Linked DNA regions of Homo sapiens: regions 1, 2 and 3 are each linked to region 4. The links are contacts of gene promoters, found by promoter capture Hi-C in blood cells and fetal thymus (Javierre and others, 2016). All regions are on one chromosome and are shown on one strand. The core of a region is centred on a gene start or on the middle of the fragment in contact, and the rest is flanking DNA. Distances in the headings are between cores, read along the strand shown. Region 1 overlaps LOC124905137 (a long non-coding RNA gene). Region 2 holds the start of CELSR1 (cadherin EGF LAG seven-pass G-type receptor 1). Region 3 has its middle 3.1 kb from the start of PPARA. Region 4 holds the start of TRMU (tRNA mitochondrial 2-thiouridylase).

Evidence for each region. Contacts are between HindIII fragments. The CHiCAGO score rates a contact against its expected background, and 5 or more counts as called.
Region 1: a fragment that was not itself captured here is called in contact with the fragment with the promoter of TRMU in region 4 in 17 of 17 cell types (M1 macrophages, endothelial precursors, erythroblasts and 14 more); the score reaches 14.1 in M1 macrophages.
Region 2: the fragment with the promoter of CELSR1 here is called in contact with the fragment with the promoter of TRMU in region 4 in 1 of 17 cell types (M1 macrophages); the score reaches 5.4 in M1 macrophages.
Region 3: a contact is called between a fragment that was not itself captured here and the fragment with the promoter of TRMU in region 4, in 3 of 17 cell types (endothelial precursors, neutrophils and erythroblasts). The highest score is 7.5, in endothelial precursors.

The regions. Positions count from the first base shown.
Region 1 is chr22:46,130,493-46,135,158 of GRCh38, reverse strand. The region is part of intron 1 of LOC124905137 (a long non-coding RNA gene); the gene reads right to left. It overlaps LOC124905138 (a long non-coding RNA gene), which reads left to right. Exons shown (of 2, transcript XR_007068140.1): 2 at 1-481. Among named protein-coding and RNA genes, the nearest start is that of PPARA, 18 kb to the left of the region's middle. The HindIII fragment of the contact is 6,870 bases long and covers 1-4,666 here.
Region 2 is chr22:46,535,215-46,539,667 of GRCh38, reverse strand. CELSR1 (cadherin EGF LAG seven-pass G-type receptor 1) reads left to right here and starts at 2,048. Exons shown (of 35, transcript NM_001378328.1): 1 at 2,048-4,453. The coding sequence starts at 2,498. The HindIII fragment of the contact is 22,329 bases long and covers 1-4,453 here.
Region 3 is chr22:46,144,908-46,149,850 of GRCh38, reverse strand. No RefSeq gene overlaps it. Among named protein-coding and RNA genes, the nearest start is that of PPARA, 3.1 kb to the left of the region's middle. The HindIII fragment of the contact is 1,284 bases long and covers 721-2,004 here.
Region 4 is chr22:46,332,655-46,337,578 of GRCh38, reverse strand. TRMU (tRNA mitochondrial 2-thiouridylase) reads right to left here and starts at 1,865. Exons shown (of 11, transcript NM_018006.5): 1 at 1,733-1,865. The coding sequence starts at 1,814. RefSeq lists a silencer at 1,418-1,467 and enhancers at 1,276-1,775, 1,608-1,827. The HindIII fragment of the contact is 6,278 bases long and covers 479-4,924 here.

The DNA of each region.
Region 1 (4,666 bases), core at 1,478-3,977, 200 kb after region 4:
CCCCTCTGCCCTCCACACCAGTGACCACCTCCTAGGAGTGGCTTCCTCAACACCTTGCCACCCTTGACACTGTCACTGTCACCTGTGCCCTGGCAGGCCGCCTGCTCCCCAAGTAGCTCCCTACTGCACTCCCCTGCCCCTCTCAGCCCTTCTTGCAAAGTGCCTCTGGGCCAGGTGCAGGGGCTCACGCCTATAATCCCAGCACTTTGGGAGGCTAAGGCAGGTGGATCACTTGAGGTCAGGAGTTCGAGACCATCCTGGCCAACATGGCAAAACCCTGTCTCTACTAAAAATACAAAAATTAGCCGGGCGTAGTGGTGCACGCCTGTAATCTCAGCTACTTGGGATGCTGAGGCAGGAGAATTGCTTGAACCCGGGAGGCGGAGGTTGCAGTGAGTGGAGATCAAGCCATTGCACTCCAGCTGGAGCGATAGAGCAAGACTCTTATCTCGAACAAAATTAAAACATGAAAATAAAAACACCTCTGACCCTGTCACTCTGTCTAAAGTGTTCTGGAGCCTTCCTGTGGCCACAGGATGAAGCCCCCAGCGTCACGTGCCTCTGGCTCATGGGGAATGACAAGGACACTGAACCTGCAGGGTTGGGCATGCCGGGAGCTCTAGGTGCAGGTCCGCTGGCCGCACCTCCGCTGAGGGTCCTGCACAGATGCGCGTCCTGGCTGCCCAGGCCTCCTGGGAGGGTTTTCTTGTTGTGCACTCATCGTTTTTGGCCCCAGACAGTCATGGAATTCAAAGTTTTCCAGACACCACAGGCCACGGAATCTTAAGAGGACAGGAGGACCGCATGTCAAGGATTACCATTGCCCTCTGCAGGAGGAGGGAGATGCAGAGCTGTCCGGGGCTGGACAGGGGCAGGTTTGCTCTGGGTGGGGGATGCGGAGGTGACCCCATCTCTGGCCCAGACCCCAGGATCACCAGGCCAGTGGTGAGTGCACTGGTTCGTGGCTTGGGCAGTTGGGGTTGGGGGTCAGGAGGCCCCTCCCAGGCATGAGGCCCGTTGCTTTCCAGGTAGAAGGGGTGGGGTGGGGAAGGCGCTGTGGGGAGAGGGGGCAGCAGGAATGTTCCAGCAGGGAGAACACCCAGACCAGACTGGAGCAATGGCCGGACCCCCATTCTCAGGTTTTGTAAGAACTTGCTCATTTAATCTCCACACTGGCCCTATGGGATGGCACCAGTGATCCCCATTCTGTGGGTGAGGAAACTGAGGCAGAGGGGTCACAGAGCTAAAACTGGTGGAGCCGGGATTTGAACCAGGGACTCAGCTCTGGAGGCTGGGCTTCTAAGCGTCATGCAGTCCTGACTTTGGGGCTTGGGGGGTTTGGGGGTCCAAGGGCGAGGCGGGACAACCACAGGGTGCCAGGGCCAGCTTTACACTGCACCACAGGGCTGGGGAGGTGCAGGTGGCTGGGAGACGGGTGTCTGGGAGGGGAGGGCAGTGACCAAGAGAGAGTGAGGAGCCCAGGATAGCTTGAGCCCCAAGTGAGAGCTGGGGCCTTTGCCCTGGAAGGAGGACTGACAGGGAGGTGTGGGGTGAAGAGGCCAGCAGGGCCCTGTGGCAGGGCCGGGGAGGGAGCTGAGCGCTGCCTGGGGCTCTGTGAGTTCCCAGCCAGCCGATGTTCCCCTGTAGCCCTCCTTGGAGCTGTGGGCTGGCACTTCAGGGGCCAATGTGACCTGTGACCCGGTGCCAGGCTGGAAAGGACCTGCTAAGTGGACGGAGGTGGCTGCAGGCTGCATCATCTGCGGGTCAAGAGGCCTTCAAAGGTGGCCCAAAGCCATCCCTCCCTGGGGGCCAGGCACTCAGACCTTCAGGCTGTGCCCAGCTGCCTTGCCAGAGCCTCAGGCCCCCCAGCATGCCAGCCATCTGCCCCTGTACCCAGCACACCCGGAAAGCTGAGGATGCCACGGGCTCCTGCTAGGATTCCATAGAGCTCACATCTCCTTCCTGGGAGTCCGCAGCCCTTCGGACCCCCAGCCCCAGCAGCCCCCACAGCCCAGGGCTGACTGCCCCAGGACGGGAGAAAACTGCGGGTTCGTGGCCCCAGGCCTGGATGCCGTGGCCTGAACAGAGGAGAGAGCTTGGTGCAAGGGTCAGGAGGCTCGGCTTCCAGCCCTGGCCGGCACTGACCATGGCGTGACCTTGGCCTGGCCTTTGGACTCTCAGGGCCACGTCGCACAGGAGTGAGGAGGCCCTTTGGCCTAGTGGCTTTAGGGACAGCTGTGCCCTTGATAATACAGCAACCCAGCCCCCTGCTGCTCCCTGGCTGTCAGTGGCCCCCCAACCCAGCTGGACCCCACTGTGCCCTCTGCCTCGGAGCACCAGCCAGCAGCCGGTACTTGGGCAACTGCCTCCATTGCAGGGCCAGGTCAGTGGTATGCAGCCCAAGGTGGCTGTCACCTCAGGACTGTGCGAGACCAAGCTCCTCCCACCCGGCCTTGTCACCTCTTCTCCTTGTGCCCAGGGACCTCCCAGCTGCTGTCAAGTGGGTGGCTACCACCATGGCGCTGGCCAGCACAGGCCAGGTACACAGAAAGCATTAACTACAAGATGAGGCCGGGTGCAGTGGCTCACGCCTCTAATCCCAGCACTTTGGGAGGCTGAGGCAGGTGGATCACTTGAGGTCAGGAGTTCAAGACCAGCCTGGCCAACATGGCGAAACCCCATCTCTACCCAAAAGACAAAAAATTGGCTGAGTGTAGTAGCACATGCCTGTAATCCCAGCTACGTGGGAGGCTGAGGTAGGAGAATCGTTTGAACCTGGCAGGCAAAGGTTGCAGTGAGCCAAGATCACCCCACTGCACTCCAACCTGGGCGACAGAGTGAGACTCTGTCTCAAAACAAACAAACAAAGAAAAAAAAAACAACTACAAGATGAGAGTCTGTGTTGGGTCTGCACAGCAGACCAGGGGCCTGAGCCCTCTCTGTGGGGTGGAGAGTGCCGGGTCCCTGCATGCTGCTTCACGGGTGACCTGATGGCTGAGAGCAGCTAGTGCTGAGGCTGTGCAGATCTCAGCGTCCAGTGGGGGGCTGCAGACCCCAGCACCCTGGGTCCGAATCCTGCTGCTCGTCCTGAGGTATGAGAGCCACAAGCACCCGGGCATGGGCACTGATGGCTCTTGGGAAACCCAGGGGCGATGAGGCTGCTCCTGGCACAACCCCTGTCCCAGTCACCCTGGCCACCCACACTCTTAGCTCCTGCCACTGCTGCCCCAGTCTGGGGCCTGTCTCCAGCCCAGCCCCCCGACCCACACTCCTGAAGGCGAGGTGCTTCTGGAAGCCTGCCCCCAACTGCGCCCCCTCTTCCCCTCCTGTGTTTCTCCCTGAGCCCAGGGTCTCATTTGTGCTGCTCGCTGCTGATCCCGGGGCCCTGCACTGAAGGCCCTGAAATAGGCCTGGGGGTCTCAGGAGGTGTCCCATAAATATGGTGGGCGTGTTCCGGACAACCTCGGTGACCTCTGTGGCCAGCTCAGTGTCTTCATTCCGTCCCCTCCCCTCATGTGCACAGGGCCCAAGTCTATCCCCAGCCTCCGCTGCCTCCCTCCCCTCTGCCTGCCTAGAGCACTTTCCCTCCTTCCATGGCCCACACTGAACGCAGGGCTCTCTCTCTGAACCCCAAACCCACCAGTGCCCCCTGCCGGACCCACCCACTTCCCTCCACCTCAGCCTTCACACATGCTGTTCCCCATGCCCGAAACACCCTTCCTGCCCTTGCTACCTGGGACCCAACTTGTAGGGAGGGGCTTCCCTGGGGCTTAGCAGGAGTGACCCCTGCCCTGTAACCTTACGGTGGCGTCAGCCCTGGCACCTGCCCAGCGCTCCCAGGAGAGGGCGCTCTCACTGCTCTTACGGCTGTTTGCCTGGATGTGGGCTAGGAGGGGGGCACCGTCTGAGCCAGGCCCATCCCCGGCGTGAATCCCTGTGCCGGGGCTGACGAGATTGGGCCTGGGAGGGTAGAGGGACTGGTCCTGGGAATGGGGCCAGAGGCCTGGCAGCACCAATCCCAGACCCAGTCTCTGCCAGAGGCAGGGGGCCGCTGAATCCACGCCCCTCATCCATCACTGGAGAGAGTTGAGGGCCGTGGGATGCAGCCCCTGCCTCATGTCCTATCCCCACCAGCTTCCTGTCCACACTGCAGGGCGCCTGCCTGGGGAAGCCCCCACCTACCAACCTGCCCTCTCTGCCCCAACCCTCGTGACCCCAATCCAGAATCCACACCCAGCCAGAAGGAACTTTCAAAAGACTCCTCTGGGCCGGGCGTGGGGCTCATGCCTGTCATCCCAGCACTTTGGGAGGCCCAGGTGAGTGGATCCCTTGAAGCCAGGAGTTCAAGACCAGCCTGTCTAATATGGTGAAACCCCAACTCTACTAAAAATAAAAAAAAATTAGCCAGGTGTGGTGGCGGACGCCTGTAGTTCCGGCTACTCGGGAGGCTGAGGCAGGAGAATCGCTTGAACCTGGGAGGCGGAGGTTGCAGTGAGCCGAGATCGCACCACTGCACTCCAGCCTGGGCGACAGAGTGAGACTCCATCTCAAAAAAGCAACAACCACAACCACCAGCACCAAAACACTCCTCTCATCTTATCACTCACCTGCTAAAACCTTCAATGACTTCCTATGGCCCTCAGGGACCCACGGGTGCCCAAGGCCC
Region 2 (4,453 bases), core at 799-3,298, 200 kb before region 4:
GCACACCTCTAAACGTTATGGTGGAGTCGGGCTTGCTGTCGGTCTAAGCGTGAATGGAATGATCTTTTGTCTTTGCTGGACATCCTGTTAGTGAGATTCATCCATCCTCCCCTGTCCCTAGGTGTTGGGCAGTCCCTGTGGTTACCTCGCAGCCTGCAGGTGCCTTATTCCAGAAAAGCAGGCCCACACCTGAACCCACTGGCTGCAGCTGAGTTTTGTTTATTTAAACCCAACCCACTCTGCTTAAAGCCTTATTGCAAAACAGGCACTCCTGGGGTTCTCTGGTTTTTCCTCCTGCCTGGGTCCCCTTCAGGTCCGCCCAGTAGCCTTCCACTGGGAGGCTCCGGGCTCAGGGACCCGCCCTGCCTTCCGGCCCCAGAACTCCTGTCCTTTCATCCTTCCCGGAAAAATCCCAGTGGAAGGGTATATGGCGGGTGGGGAGGTCCTGGACCGCTCACATTAAGGAGACGGACTTTTCTCCTTCCTCCCCTCCCTCCACACACACATTTCCCAACAGGACTCTCCAGTGGAAACCTCGAATTAAAAGGTTCCAAAGCAACTCCACCTTTTAGATCAATATAACGTGTTCAAATCCTTGCTACTGGGAAGAAAATGCTCACATTGGGCTTCAGCACAAAGACACTGTTTCAGCAGCTTTGAGCGAAGTTGGCTGAGTATGCGTGTGACACACACACAGACACATCGCTCCGGGGGAGAAACCCTTCCGGTTCTCCACAGCCGCCCACGGTCCTCGTTGAGACTGGACTCATCTCAGCTCAGCTCAGAGATTTGGCTGCAGGATCCGACCCTCCCTTGCCAAAAAGACCCGTTCTAGGGGTGACTGCGCATTACTCCCACCCCCACCGCTCCGACCGGCCCCAGGAGAAGCCCTTCTAGGAGAGAAGAGGCGACCCCCACCTACCGTCCCCGACCACTGGGAGGCCTAAGGGCTGCACTGGACTCCGGCGCCCCGAGCGCCACCAAGGGAGTGCGCGCCCTTCCCAGCCGCTGGTGGCACAGTCCCAAAGCCCCGCCCATGCGGGGGGTCGCCAAGTCCTAAGCCTCCACCCCCTTTATCCCTGTGCCCCATCCGGAGGCAGGTGTACCCGTCACGCAAACCTAAAGCTGCCCCCGGCCCCCCGTGGTTCCCCGCAGGAGGCGGGGGTGTGTGTCACTTTTCTGAAAGCTCTAAGGTCTCTGCCCCCCGCCCCCCGCTGTCCTCCGTAGGAGGCTGGGCAGGGGCTGTGGCACAGCTCTAAATCCCTGCGGGTGCTTGCTTGCCCCAGGCAGCTTCCAGGACCCGCAGCCCCCCGCCTTCCCCGCAACCCGCTTCGGGAGGAGCCGGACGCTCGGGGATTCCGCGATGCGTCCGCGAACGCTCGGGTCGGGCCGCACGCGGGAGATGAGCGCGCCTCCGCCGTCCTCTCCAAATCCCTTATGTCAACCGGGGTTTTCTTCTTTCATTTAAAAGTTGCGCTTTAAACCAAGTGGGACGCAGATCCGGTAGCTGCCTATTGGGCTTCAAAGTCCAGGGAGTTTTAGTCGGGGTGAAGCATTTTAGCCTCCGTGCGTCTTGCTGTAAAATGGGTAACCCTCCTCGACAGCCTCCGCAGTCCTTAATGGGTGGGGGGGGGCTCCCCGGCCTCTCGGCCCCAGTCCTCCGCCCCCGGGTCCTACCCGCGCGGCACTCCTGGCGGCGGTCTCCGTGGATCTGTTCTGCCGGGGTGGGGAGCCAGGCTCTGAGCCGCGGCCCCGAGCCCGAGGTGCGGAGCCACCGCCCCACGGGTAGCGGCCACCGGGGGCCCCAGCCCCACCTTTCCCGGCCCTGTTGCCTCGGCCCCGCCCCACCGGGAGGCTGGGTGGGGAGGCCTCCGGGGAGTAGGGCCCCAGTCCCCGTCCCGGCCGCGCCCTCGCGTCTCCATAGCGATCCTCTCGGCGCGCACCTCCGAGCCGGCTCCCCCCGGGGCCGAACAATACGCCGCTGGGCCGGGGGCGGGGCGGGGCCGGGCCGGGGGCGGGGAGAGCGCGGGCGGAGTGGGCGCGGGCCAAGCGCACCGCCCAGGCAGCAGCCGGCCGCCGGGGTCTGCGCGGCGCGGAGCTGCCCAGCCCGCTCCGGGAACTCAGCCCCCGCCCCGCGCCGGGCCCGCCCCGCTTCCCACGCCCGTCCGGCCGAGCCCGCGCCGGAGCCACCTGGAGCCGCCTGGAGCCGCCGCCGCCGCCGCAGGTTGATGCGCGGCGCCCTCCCGGGACGCGCGGAGGAGCCATCTTGAAACCAACTTCGCAAACTTTCGCAAAGTGCTCTCGAAGTGGAAGCTGCGGGGGAGGCCGGGCGCGTGGTCCCCACAGTCCCCGCCAGGGCCCCCGGGGAGGCGGGACGCGGACCGCCCCGAGGGCCGGGCGCCCGGGAGCCGCTCCCCGGCCTCGCCGGGTGGATGCGGAGGCGCGCCGGGTGCATGGATTGTGTTCGGGCGCCCGGCTCGGGCTCGGGCTCCGGGCCATGGCGCCGCCGCCGCCGCCCGTGCTGCCCGTGCTGCTGCTCCTGGCCGCCGCCGCCGCCCTGCCGGCGATGGGGCTGCGAGCGGCCGCCTGGGAGCCGCGCGTACCCGGCGGGACCCGCGCCTTCGCCCTCCGGCCCGGCTGTACCTACGCGGTGGGCGCCGCTTGCACGCCCCGGGCGCCGCGGGAGCTGCTGGACGTGGGCCGCGATGGGCGGCTGGCAGGACGTCGGCGCGTCTCGGGCGCGGGGCGCCCGCTGCCGCTGCAAGTCCGCTTGGTGGCCCGCAGTGCCCCGACGGCGCTGAGCCGCCGCCTGCGGGCGCGCACGCACCTTCCCGGCTGCGGAGCCCGTGCCCGGCTCTGCGGAACCGGTGCCCGGCTCTGCGGGGCGCTCTGCTTCCCCGTCCCCGGCGGCTGCGCGGCCGCGCAGCATTCGGCGCTCGCAGCTCCGACCACCTTACCCGCCTGCCGCTGCCCGCCGCGCCCCAGGCCCCGCTGTCCCGGCCGTCCCATCTGCCTGCCGCCGGGCGGCTCGGTCCGCCTGCGTCTGCTGTGCGCCCTGCGGCGCGCGGCTGGCGCCGTCCGGGTGGGACTGGCGCTGGAGGCCGCCACCGCGGGGACGCCCTCCGCGTCGCCATCCCCATCGCCGCCCCTGCCGCCGAACTTGCCCGAAGCCCGGGCGGGGCCGGCGCGACGGGCCCGGCGGGGCACGAGCGGCAGAGGGAGCCTGAAGTTTCCGATGCCCAACTACCAGGTGGCGTTGTTTGAGAACGAACCGGCGGGCACCCTCATCCTCCAGCTGCACGCGCACTACACCATCGAGGGCGAGGAGGAGCGCGTGAGCTATTACATGGAGGGGCTGTTCGACGAGCGCTCCCGGGGCTACTTCCGAATCGACTCTGCCACGGGCGCCGTGAGCACGGACAGCGTACTGGACCGCGAGACCAAGGAGACGCACGTCCTCAGGGTGAAAGCCGTGGACTACAGTACGCCGCCGCGCTCGGCCACCACCTACATCACTGTCTTGGTCAAAGACACCAACGACCACAGCCCGGTCTTCGAGCAGTCGGAGTACCGCGAGCGCGTGCGGGAGAACCTGGAGGTGGGCTACGAGGTGCTGACCATCCGCGCCAGCGACCGCGACTCGCCCATCAACGCCAACTTGCGTTACCGCGTGTTGGGGGGCGCGTGGGACGTCTTCCAGCTCAACGAGAGCTCTGGCGTGGTGAGCACACGGGCGGTGCTGGACCGGGAGGAGGCGGCCGAGTACCAGCTCCTGGTGGAGGCCAACGACCAGGGGCGCAATCCGGGCCCGCTCAGTGCCACGGCCACCGTGTACATCGAGGTGGAGGACGAGAACGACAACTACCCCCAGTTCAGCGAGCAGAACTACGTGGTCCAGGTGCCCGAGGACGTGGGGCTCAACACGGCTGTGCTGCGAGTGCAGGCCACGGACCGGGACCAGGGCCAGAACGCGGCCATTCACTACAGCATCCTCAGCGGGAACGTGGCCGGCCAGTTCTACCTGCACTCGCTGAGCGGGATCCTGGATGTGATCAACCCCTTGGATTTCGAGGATGTCCAGAAATACTCGCTGAGCATTAAGGCCCAGGATGGGGGCCGGCCCCCGCTCATCAATTCTTCAGGGGTGGTGTCTGTGCAGGTGCTGGATGTCAACGACAACGAGCCTATCTTTGTGAGCAGCCCCTTCCAGGCCACGGTGCTGGAGAATGTGCCCCTGGGCTACCCCGTGGTGCACATTCAGGCGGTGGACGCGGACTCTGGAGAGAACGCCCGGCTGCACTATCGCCTGGTGGACACGGCCTCCACCTTTCTGGGGGGCGGCAGCGCTGGGCCTAAGAATCCTGCCCCCACCCCTGACTTCCCCTTCCAGATCCACAACAGCTCCGGTTGGATCACAGTGTGTGCCGAGCTGGACCGCGAGGAGGTGGAGCAC
Region 3 (4,943 bases), core at 113-2,612, 190 kb after region 4:
GGGGGAACGAGGAGGGTGAAGGGCAACGCGGACGGGCTCGGGGAGGCGCCGCCAGCTCCGACCCCACAACCCCACCCCTCTCCAGCGGCCCAAGAGCCATGCCCGCCCCTACTTCATGCGCTGGGGGGTGAGGGGCTGACTTTGTGCCTACGCAAGGCGCTGGGACTCTGCCAGAGCAAGGAGAGGTCGCGGCCCGGTGGCCAATGGCGAGGAGTAGGAGAGCGCCCTGCAAAGCCGCTTTGTTCGGGCCGTGACGCTCGAGCTGCCGGAGCGGAATGCACAAAGCCCCTGGGTGCCGGCACATCAGGGCTCCCCTCCTCGGGAACGCAATGTGTGCTATGCCCGCTCCACTGCCTGCCCTCCGCTGCCAGCTGTGCCTGCCACTGTGCTATTTGTGGCAGCGGGCGCCCAGGAGGACCCACTCCGGAAAGCAAACCCAGATCTCATTAGGCAGGGGAACTGGAGATCAGGCGGGAACTGGCCCTTTCACAAACTTCTCTTAAACTCACCCTTGTTGATTAGCCAGGCACCTATGGTGAACTTTGCCCCACCCTCCAGACACCCACATATCCTTCCCACTGGCACACGGCAACCTCACCTTCTCTTGCACATGTTAGCCAGCAATAGCTATCATTTATGTTGTTTCAGAGTTTATAGGGTGACCTGTACACGTAATATCCTGCATATCTCGTGGGGTGTGCAGGCAGCCACATCCAAGCTTGTCATCCTGTTGTGTTTGGTGAGGGAAGCTGACCCTGGGCTGCCCACGCAGAGCTCAGGGGCTACATCCTCATGAGGACCTCCGGGCTCAAAGACATTACCTGGCATACCCATATCCCAGACTCTCAAGGACCAGGGTCCACACAGGTGTGTGACCCAGATGCACCACCCAGGTCAACCAGGTGTTGAAAGACCTAGTGAACATTCTCATGAACAAGGACAAAGGCTATGTGGGGGTGTGCAGAGTGGTCACGTACACTCAGCAGACATAGGAAAGTGATATTCTTGGGTTTTTTGGGGCTCCCAAGGTTTTAGGGAGAGAAAACTTGTTTTTCATCCATGTGTCCCAGAAATAAGCATTTTCAATCAAATGCTGTCAGCCAGTCTCCCGCAGGCGTCCTGAGGGTAGAAGCAAGTTCAGGACTCTTCTCTTGGGAGTATCCTGGCCAGAAACAGCCCCATATCCATGCTTCCCGGGGGTGGTAGGTTTCTTCTGGGAAACCACGCTCAGATGAGAGAGATGAAGCAATTTTCTGTTGGCCACGAAGACCTTGTCACACACCCAGCATGGGAGCAACTGTCACAAAGGGCACACCCTCACCCCCATTCCCAGCTCCAGGAAGTCTCTCTTTACCTTCTTCAGTGCTGATGAAATGAGGGCCACACGACAGAACAGAAACACCGCTGGCGCAGGGACTGAGTAGAAATCTGTAACTTTGAGGACAAATCAGTGCTCCTGAAAATGTCTCTGAGCACCACCTGAGTTTCCTCTCTGGCGCCTTAGTGACTACTGGGAGCATCTGGTGCATATGGATCTTAGTTCATAGCTACCATTTATGTGGTGACAATGCTGTCTCAGGTCCCTTTTTACATTTTCTGATCCGGAAGATGTTCTGAGGGTAATTATTACTGTGCCCACATTGCAAGATGGAGACTGAGGCACAGAGAAGCCCCATCTGCACTGGGTCCCCCAGGCCAGCGGCAGGGCGCAGGACGGAAGGCAGGTCTGTAAAGCCCACGTCTGCCCTGCTGAGCTGCTCTCTCCTGCAAGTGCTGACCTGCCAGCCAGCCAGAGAAGCCGAGGCTCTCCCACAGCCTCAGGGAAAGAATTGGGAAGCTGGGAATTCAGACGGGAAGGGGTTGCTGGAGGAGGCAACCTGGAGTGATAGGGCTTGGCCGCTCAGTACAGGGCAGCAGTTAGACCCTGAGTGCTGGGAGCAGGTGATGACGGTCATCTGTGTTCAGGGACCCCAGTGCTTTCCCTGACCCTGCCAGGGTGAAGCTTCTCCTATGGGCCTGGGGTCCAGGCTGGAGTCTGTTTGCCAGCCAGGGCCTGCGAAGTTTGCTGCTGGCTTGCCCTCTGCTGATGTGCAAAGCTCTCTGTCAAGGGGGAGTGTGTGCTTCCAGGGTGTCATCCGCCAGGGCAGTGGCCTCTGAGCTCCTGGAAGCGTGCCTGCAGGTCAGGTGGTGGAAGTCCACCGGGGCAGGGGCCGTGGGCTGAGAAAGGGAGGGCTCACTGGCAGCGAGCAGGCGGCTGCTTGGCGACCCAAGGCTGGACCTCGTCGGTGAGGGCCAACCATGGGCATGTCCTTAGTTGCCATCCTGGTACTGACAGCAAAACCCCATGGGTCCAAGGTAACAAAGTATTGTCATACTAGGGGACAGAATCTACAAGAGTCCCACAAGGCAGCTGTGCTTATGCTCATCTTACAGATGAGGAACGAAGGGCCAGGAATGGCAGCATGTGGCCAAGGTCCCCGGCAGGGAGTGAGAACTCTCCCGAGTCCCAGTCCATCAGCACCTGGCCCTGGGTACCCCCGGGGTTCGGTTGTCTGTTGCAGAAGCTGTCTGTTGGCTGATACGGCAGCCTCTGGCAGACTCAGGAGCCCAGGGTCAAGGATCAGATTTCCCTGGTGGCTGCTCCTGGCCCCACAGCTCCAGGGGGGTGGCAGCAGCATGTGCAGAAGCCTGTGGCAGGAGACATTCAAGGGGAGAGAGTGTGGAGATGGCACAAAGCGGGCAGAGCTGGGCAAGGCCCTGGCCAGGCAGGTCTTGCAGCCCAGTGAGGAGTTTAACTTTGGTCCTAAGGGCTGTGGGACACCTGCCATGGAGGGTTGTCAGCAGAGGCATGACTCCATCTGATTAGCACCAAGTGCTGCATGCTACATGTTAACCAGTGGTCACAGCTGAGGTGGTGGGGAGGGGCTTAAGCTGTGCACCCATTCTAGCTTTGCAGGATCTGGAAGCTTCCGCAGGTCCAGAAACTGCTGCTGTCATGACACTGTACCCTTTGAAAATTAACCAGTCCCCAGCTTTGCAGCAGGGCCCATTCGACATGGCTCAGATGTCTGTCTCTGTAGATCTTGAGAAGAACAGGGCAGCCCACCTGCAGCTGCACTGCCTCCCTTCTTTGCCCCTCCAAAGGGACAGGTGTCCACCTCGTCACACAGGATCCAGCTCCAGGGCTAGATCATGGATGTTGTTTATCCAGTCCAGGACATGGACTGGAAGCTGCAGGACCCCTCCCTGTGTCATGCTAGGTGCCGTGGGAGTCTCACTGCAAAGTGTGATGTGTAGATAGACGGATTTTCTTTCTTTACTTTTCTTTTCTTTTTTCTTCTCTTCTCTTCCCTTCCCTTCTCTTCTCTTCTCTTCTCTTCTCTTCTCTTCTCTTCTCTTCTCTTCTCTTCTCTTCTCTTCTCTTCTCTTCTCTTTTTGAGATGGAGTCTTGCTCTGCACTTATGTCCTTGCTGGAGTGCAGTGGTGAGATCTCGGCTCATTGCAACCTCCATCTCCCAGGTTCAAGTGATTCTCCTGACTCATCCTCCTGAGTAGCTGGGATTACAGGCACCTACCACCATACTCGGCTAATTTTTTGTATTTTTCATACAGACAGGGTTTCACCATGTTGACCAGGCTGGTTTCGAACTCCTGACCTCAGGTGATCCGCTCGCCTTGACCTCCTAAAGTGCTGGGATTACAGGCGTGAGCCGCTGCGCCCAACCAGATAGACATATTTGGTCCATAAAGGACAATCTGCTCTGTGTGGAGTTGGATTCTGCAATGATCTGACCCAGTGGTTGGCAGTGAGTGGCACTGCTGCGGCCAGGGAAGACTGCAAGTGCAGAGATGAGGTCTGGCATGACAGCCTGGAAACACACAAGACAGGCAAGCTTACGTGCACAGCACCGTGCCACGTGGGCACTGTCCCCCAACTTTCCCTCATGGAATGAGTGGGTGCCTGGGGTTTGGAGTTCAACAGAATTGGATTCAAATCCTCCTGTACCTTTTCCTCAAACTACAACCTCCAGCCGGTGATGCTATCCGAGCCCCCTCATCTCTAAAATGGGGCAGGGACGCCTTCCTGGATGGGTCCTGGTGTGAGTTTGAGGAGGGAGCACGGGGGTGGTGCAGGGTGGGGCCTGATGAGTGGGTCATATTTGGGACATGGTAACCACCAGCTTGAGGGCTCTGTCAAGAGTTGCCTCCTACAGGAAGCCTGCTTGGCAACCGTCCCCCTGCCAAAGCTGCCCTCTGCCTTGTGTGGCCACCACCTCCTGTGTTCCATGCGGCTCTTGTCGCATCCAGCACCATCTTTATGGCGGCCCACTGCCCGGTCCTGTCTCTCCACTCAGGACAGCCGACAGGCAGGCCTCATGCCTCGCAGACACCAGCCCCAGTGCCTACGTGTCTCCCGCCCGTGATCCCCTGTCCCACCCTATTATCTGCCTTTCACCAAAGCATCCTGCCAGCCAGGAAAGGCAATCTGAACCGGAGCCTGTGCAGCTGAGTGGAAGGGGGGCTGCCCTATTGCATTGCTCTGCTTGGGTTTCACTAAAACGTGGGATTGGGCCATGGTCCCTCATCTCCTGGAAGGGACAGGTCATGTTTGACAAAGTTTTCTGGGTCTGCAGCAAAGTGAAAAAAACAAAACAAAACAAAACAAAAAAACAAAAAACTGACATTGTGAAGAGTTTCCTATAGAACTTCAACTAGCTGATTTAAAGAAATACCTCGGGGCCAGGCGTGGTGGCTCATGCCTGTAATCCCAGCACTTTGGGAGGCCGAGGCAGGTGGACCATCTGAGGCCAGGAGTTCGAGACTAGCCTGGCCAACATGGTGAAACCCCATCTCTACTAAAAATACAAAAATTAGCTGCGCATGGTGGCACGTGCCTGTAGTCCCACCTACTCTGGGGGCTGAGGCAGGAGAATCGCTTGAAC
Region 4 (4,924 bases), core at 616-3,115:
TGGTATTTTCTCATCTTTGTGTCCCCATCTATGTATCAGCACAATACCTAGCAGGAGGGGATCAGCCAGTGTGTGTGGAATACACGAAGGAATAGTCGAAACTCAACAAAATTTTTCAAAGCACCATTCAGTTATCAAAAAAGGAAACTCTTTTCAAAAGTTATTTCTAGTTACTATCTAAGACTTAGATTCTAAGTGATCAGATATAAAGATAATTAAAATTTTCGATATTTTGTAAGAGCTGTACCACCTAGTTTATGACCTATTTTCTACCTTTTCGATTGTAACAAAATATTCACCCAAATATTGGAAAGGCCAACTTTAGCCCTACACCACCTTAGCAAACTACACAGGTGCAGACCCTGTATGAGAAAGCTGGTTCGTTTAGGTAGGCTGAATGTAATGAAAGACAGGGCAAATGACTGCTGAAGAAGGCTTCATATAGTACCCAAAACAACAGAAATTTGATGACAAAGCTTTGTCAAAACTACACCACCACACGCGAAAGACCACCCCTATCCCAGATCAACCAGACTAATGTCTACCTAACAGTCTAAAGCCCCTGGTATAGCATCTTCCATAATCAGGGCTAAACGTGCTCCAGGCTCCTCTCCTTCCATCTCCATCTGGCCAGAACCAGCCCACACTTGCAGGCCTCTGTGATTCTGCTTGCACTGCTGACTGTGCCGGGAGGGCCGCCTCCACCTCCAAGTCTCTGCTTAGTGACATCCTACTCTTCTTTCGACTCAGCTGAGCACCTCCATCTCTAGGATGCTTTCCTCCACTCTCCCTTCCTCACAACTATTTCTGCTTATGGTCCGCCTACCCTTCTCTTTGGCACTTACTGTACCTACCATAATAGCTATGGTTATTAACAATATAAACTAATAGCCACTACTGTTTTCTGCGTACCTCGTATGTGCTGAGCACGTACTCATCAGTATGTACTATGTCATCTAATCCCTCCAGTCACCCCGTGAGGCAGGTGTTAGCCGAATTTTACAGGGGACGGCTTAATTCACTTGCCCAAGGTCAGGAGCCAAAGATGGCGCAAAGCAGAGCTCCACAAACGTGACTCTGTGAATGAGGCCTCCCGCGGGGAGCCACACAGGTGAAGTTAAACAAGTGCTCATTTCAGCGCCGGGCCCGAGGAATGCTAAGCACCCGTGGGGCTCCGTTTAGATGCCGGAAGAAATGCAAATGCTCCTGGAGAAAACTTTGTCCTCCAGCGAGCGGAGAACACAGGAGACGCTGAACAAGCAGACCCGCCGCGCGGCAGTTGTCCAGTCTGCTGAGTGGGGAGGACAAGGACCTCCCACCGGGCGGCCACAGCGTGTGCAGAGGTCAGGCCCCCGGCCCGGCGATCCCAGCTCCCCTCACCAGTGTCCACGGTCTCACAGGTGAATGTGGACGCCGCAGATCCGTGAGAAACCCTTCCCTCCCCACCCCACCCCGGCCCGCCGGCTTCTCACTGTGGGTGGGCGCGCGTGGGTGGAGAGGGGCGCGGAACTGCTCCCAGGTAGTCGGAGCTGCAGTCGCGCACACCTCCGACTACACAGGTGGAGGGCGAGGAGCCTCCGAACCAAAGTCAGAGGACGGGGTATCCTCCTGCCGACCCGCGCGCAACCAGCGGCCCAGGGAGGGAGGAGACGTGCACAACGCCACGACGGACGGGGACAGGTTTCCGGGGACACATTCGCTCGGCGGGGGGCGGGAGCCTCGGACGCCTCACCTCTCCGCCTCAGCAGCAGCGCGGCCACGGCGCTGTCCACGCCGCCGGACAGGGCGCACACGACGTGCCGCAAGGCCTGCATCCGCCAGTCGCCCAACTTCGCCAGCTGCAGCTACCGCCGCTTCCGCGCCTTGCCGGAAGTCCCGCCCCGGCCGTAGGGTCCGCGCTAGTGGCCCGGCCGGAAGCTGCGGCAGCTTACCCGCGTTCCGTCCGGCCTTCCCCTGTCCCGCGGCGGGTTCCCCTGTCTCCGGCCTGCGCTCACCCCTGAGGCTCCACCGACCCGCGGGGCGCCGAGACTCTGTCGGGCCGCGAGGGGCTGGCTTTTTTTTTGAGCCGCCGCCTTGCCCTCCCCACCCGCGCCCCGGCCTCACTGCTCTTCTTCTGCGCTGTAAACCAAAAATAAAATTCTAAGCCCCCCAGCCAGCCATTGGAGGCCTCCTCTCGGCCAAGGGCGTCCTAGAGGGAACCTGAACCGCGAGTTCGGGCTCTGATGGGAAAGGCCGGGTGGGACCCGCCTCACTAGACCCTCCTCCTCCCTTTGGAATTCGGACCAGCATTAACGTCAAAACAGACTTAAGACTGTCTAGGCGGACTCTCCGTAGCAATAGGATACCGACATGACAGATGGCAGGCCCTGAAAGATATCGAAGTATTTTACAGTATTTTAATTTAATTTAATTTTTAATTAATTAAATTTTTTTGAGATGGAGTTTTGCTCTGTCGCAGGCTGGAGTGTAGTGGGCGCGACCTCGGCTCACTGCAACCTTCACCTCCAAGATTCAAGCGATTCTCCTGCCTCAGCCTCCCTAGTAGCTGCGATTACAGGCGCCCGCCACCAAGCCCAGCTAATTTTTGTATTTTTAGTAGAGACGGGGTTTCACCGTATTTGCCAGGCTGGTCTCTCACTCCTGACCTCAAGGGATCCGCCCACCTCAGCCTCCCAAAGTGGCGGGATTACAGGTGTGAGTCACTGCCCCCGGCCCAGAAAATCTTTGAATCCACCTATGACCTGGAAGCCCCACCCCACCTTCGAGTTGTCCCACCTTTCCGGAACCAATGTTACATCTTACATGTATTGATTTATGGCTTATGTCTCCCTAAAACGTACGAAACCAAAAGCTGTAGCACCACCAGTTTGAGCACGTGTTCTCAGGATCTCCTGGGACTATGACATGAATAAATATCTTCAAATCTTTTACAGTTTGACTCCAAGCATACTCAGCACTCAATCCTTAATGTCTGTGAGGTGTGTTGGACAGGGGTTTTGTGTTCTGTCCACTCCTACTCCATGCCCAGAAAAGCCCCTGGCCCAGGGCAGGTGCTTCATAACCTCGCTGAATAAAGGAAGGAGGAGAGAATGGAGGTCATCCCCCAGGGGTGATATTCAAGCTGAGTTCTTCTCTACGAGTTAGCATCTAGACAAGGTCTACCTAAAGCACAGGGAGACTCTGAACGAAAAAGATGTTCATTTGTGAATAGGGCATTGCAATGGGAATATGCATGCCACAATAAGCTATGTGGGTATTCAGGGAAGTAAAGGAAGACAAAGGTTTTTATTTTATTTATTTATTTTTTTGAGACAGTCTCACTTGGTCACTAGGCTGGAGTGCAGTGGCGTGATCTTAGCTCACTGCAACCTCCGCCTCCCGGGTTTAAGCGATTCTCCTGCCTCAGCCTCCGGAGTAGCTGGGATTACAGGCACATGCCACCACACCCAGCTAATTTTTGTATTTTTAGTAGAGACGGCATTTCACCATGTTGGCCAGGATGGTCTTGATCTCCTGACCTTGTGATCCGCCCGCCTCGGCCTCCCAAAGTGCTGGGATTACACGCGTGAGCCACAGTGCCCGGCCTAGGAAGACAAAGGTTTTTAAAGGGAAAATGAGGATCACATCATTGTTTTGAGATAATTCTTTGGCTACAAAGATCAATAACAAGGGTGACAGCACTCCAGGGTTGGACAAGCAGTTGCTGGGCAGATGTCCTTGCAACAGAAGTTTTTTGTTTTTTTTTTTTTTTTGAGGAAGGTTACGATAGCCTTTGTGTAAAGTTGTGGTTTTTGCAGTCTTTTGTGATAGTTGTTATTATTAGGCACATGTGCATGAGAACCCTCCCTTGTGGTATGAACCCAAAGTACCTGAGACAGGTTTCAATTTAGAAAGTTTATTTTGCCAAGGTTAAGGACATGCCAGTGACACAGCCTCAGGATGATGTCCTGAGGATATGTGCCCAAGGTGGTCGAGGCACAGCTTGCTTTGATACATATTAGGGAGACACAGGACATCAATTAATACGTGTAAGATGTACACTGGTTCTGTCTGGAAAGGCGCAACAACTGGGGGTGGTGGGCAGCTCGCAGGTCATAGGTAGATAAGAGATAAACTGTTGCATTCCTTTGGGTCTTTGATCAGCCTTTCACTGAATACACAATCTCCATGTGAGAGGCAGGTAGAGGAACAGTCACTGATGCCTTAGTCTGGCTCAGTGAATCTGCATTTTCACATAAACAATAGGGCAGAGGAAGCAATCAGACATGCATTTGTCTCAGGTGAGCAGAGGACTGATGGTGAGTTGTCCATTGTCTGGCATCTGTGAAGATAAGCTATCAATTTACATTGCCAGGGTGAAATTCAACAGAACTATTTTAGGGTAAAGATCTCGAGGTCCACGAGGAATTTCCAAGAAGAAAAGCAGGAACTACCAACAGGAGAGCCCTGGGGACTGGTGCCAGGAGGAGCTGCAAGACAGGAGGGAGGTCACAGGGCCTGTGGGGAAAAGGATGACCACTTTTTCAGAATAAAGGATCAGGAAAATACCCAACAGGAGGGCAATTTCATCTTGCATTTCCCGGAAGAGATAAGGAAATCCAGTATCTGGGCAGCTGAGTTTGTGCAGATTTAGAGGTACACGTTTAGGCTGTGTCTAAACTTGAGTCTGGGTCTGGGGGCAGGCCCTCCTTGGGTGTGGCAGGCTGATCTAAGGTTATGGCAGGTTAAGTCCCAGTTGCAGCCAACCCGCAAAATGGCTGAGATCCATGCTCACATATTTTCTGCTACTTTTTGGTTAACTATATGGTATTTTAGGTACTCCGTAGCTCCAAGAGGCCCCTGTGTATCACCCAGGTCCACTACAGGCTAGTTATGGCCAGGATGACGACATCCCAGGTGCCGCCTGCCAACAGCAATGTCAGAG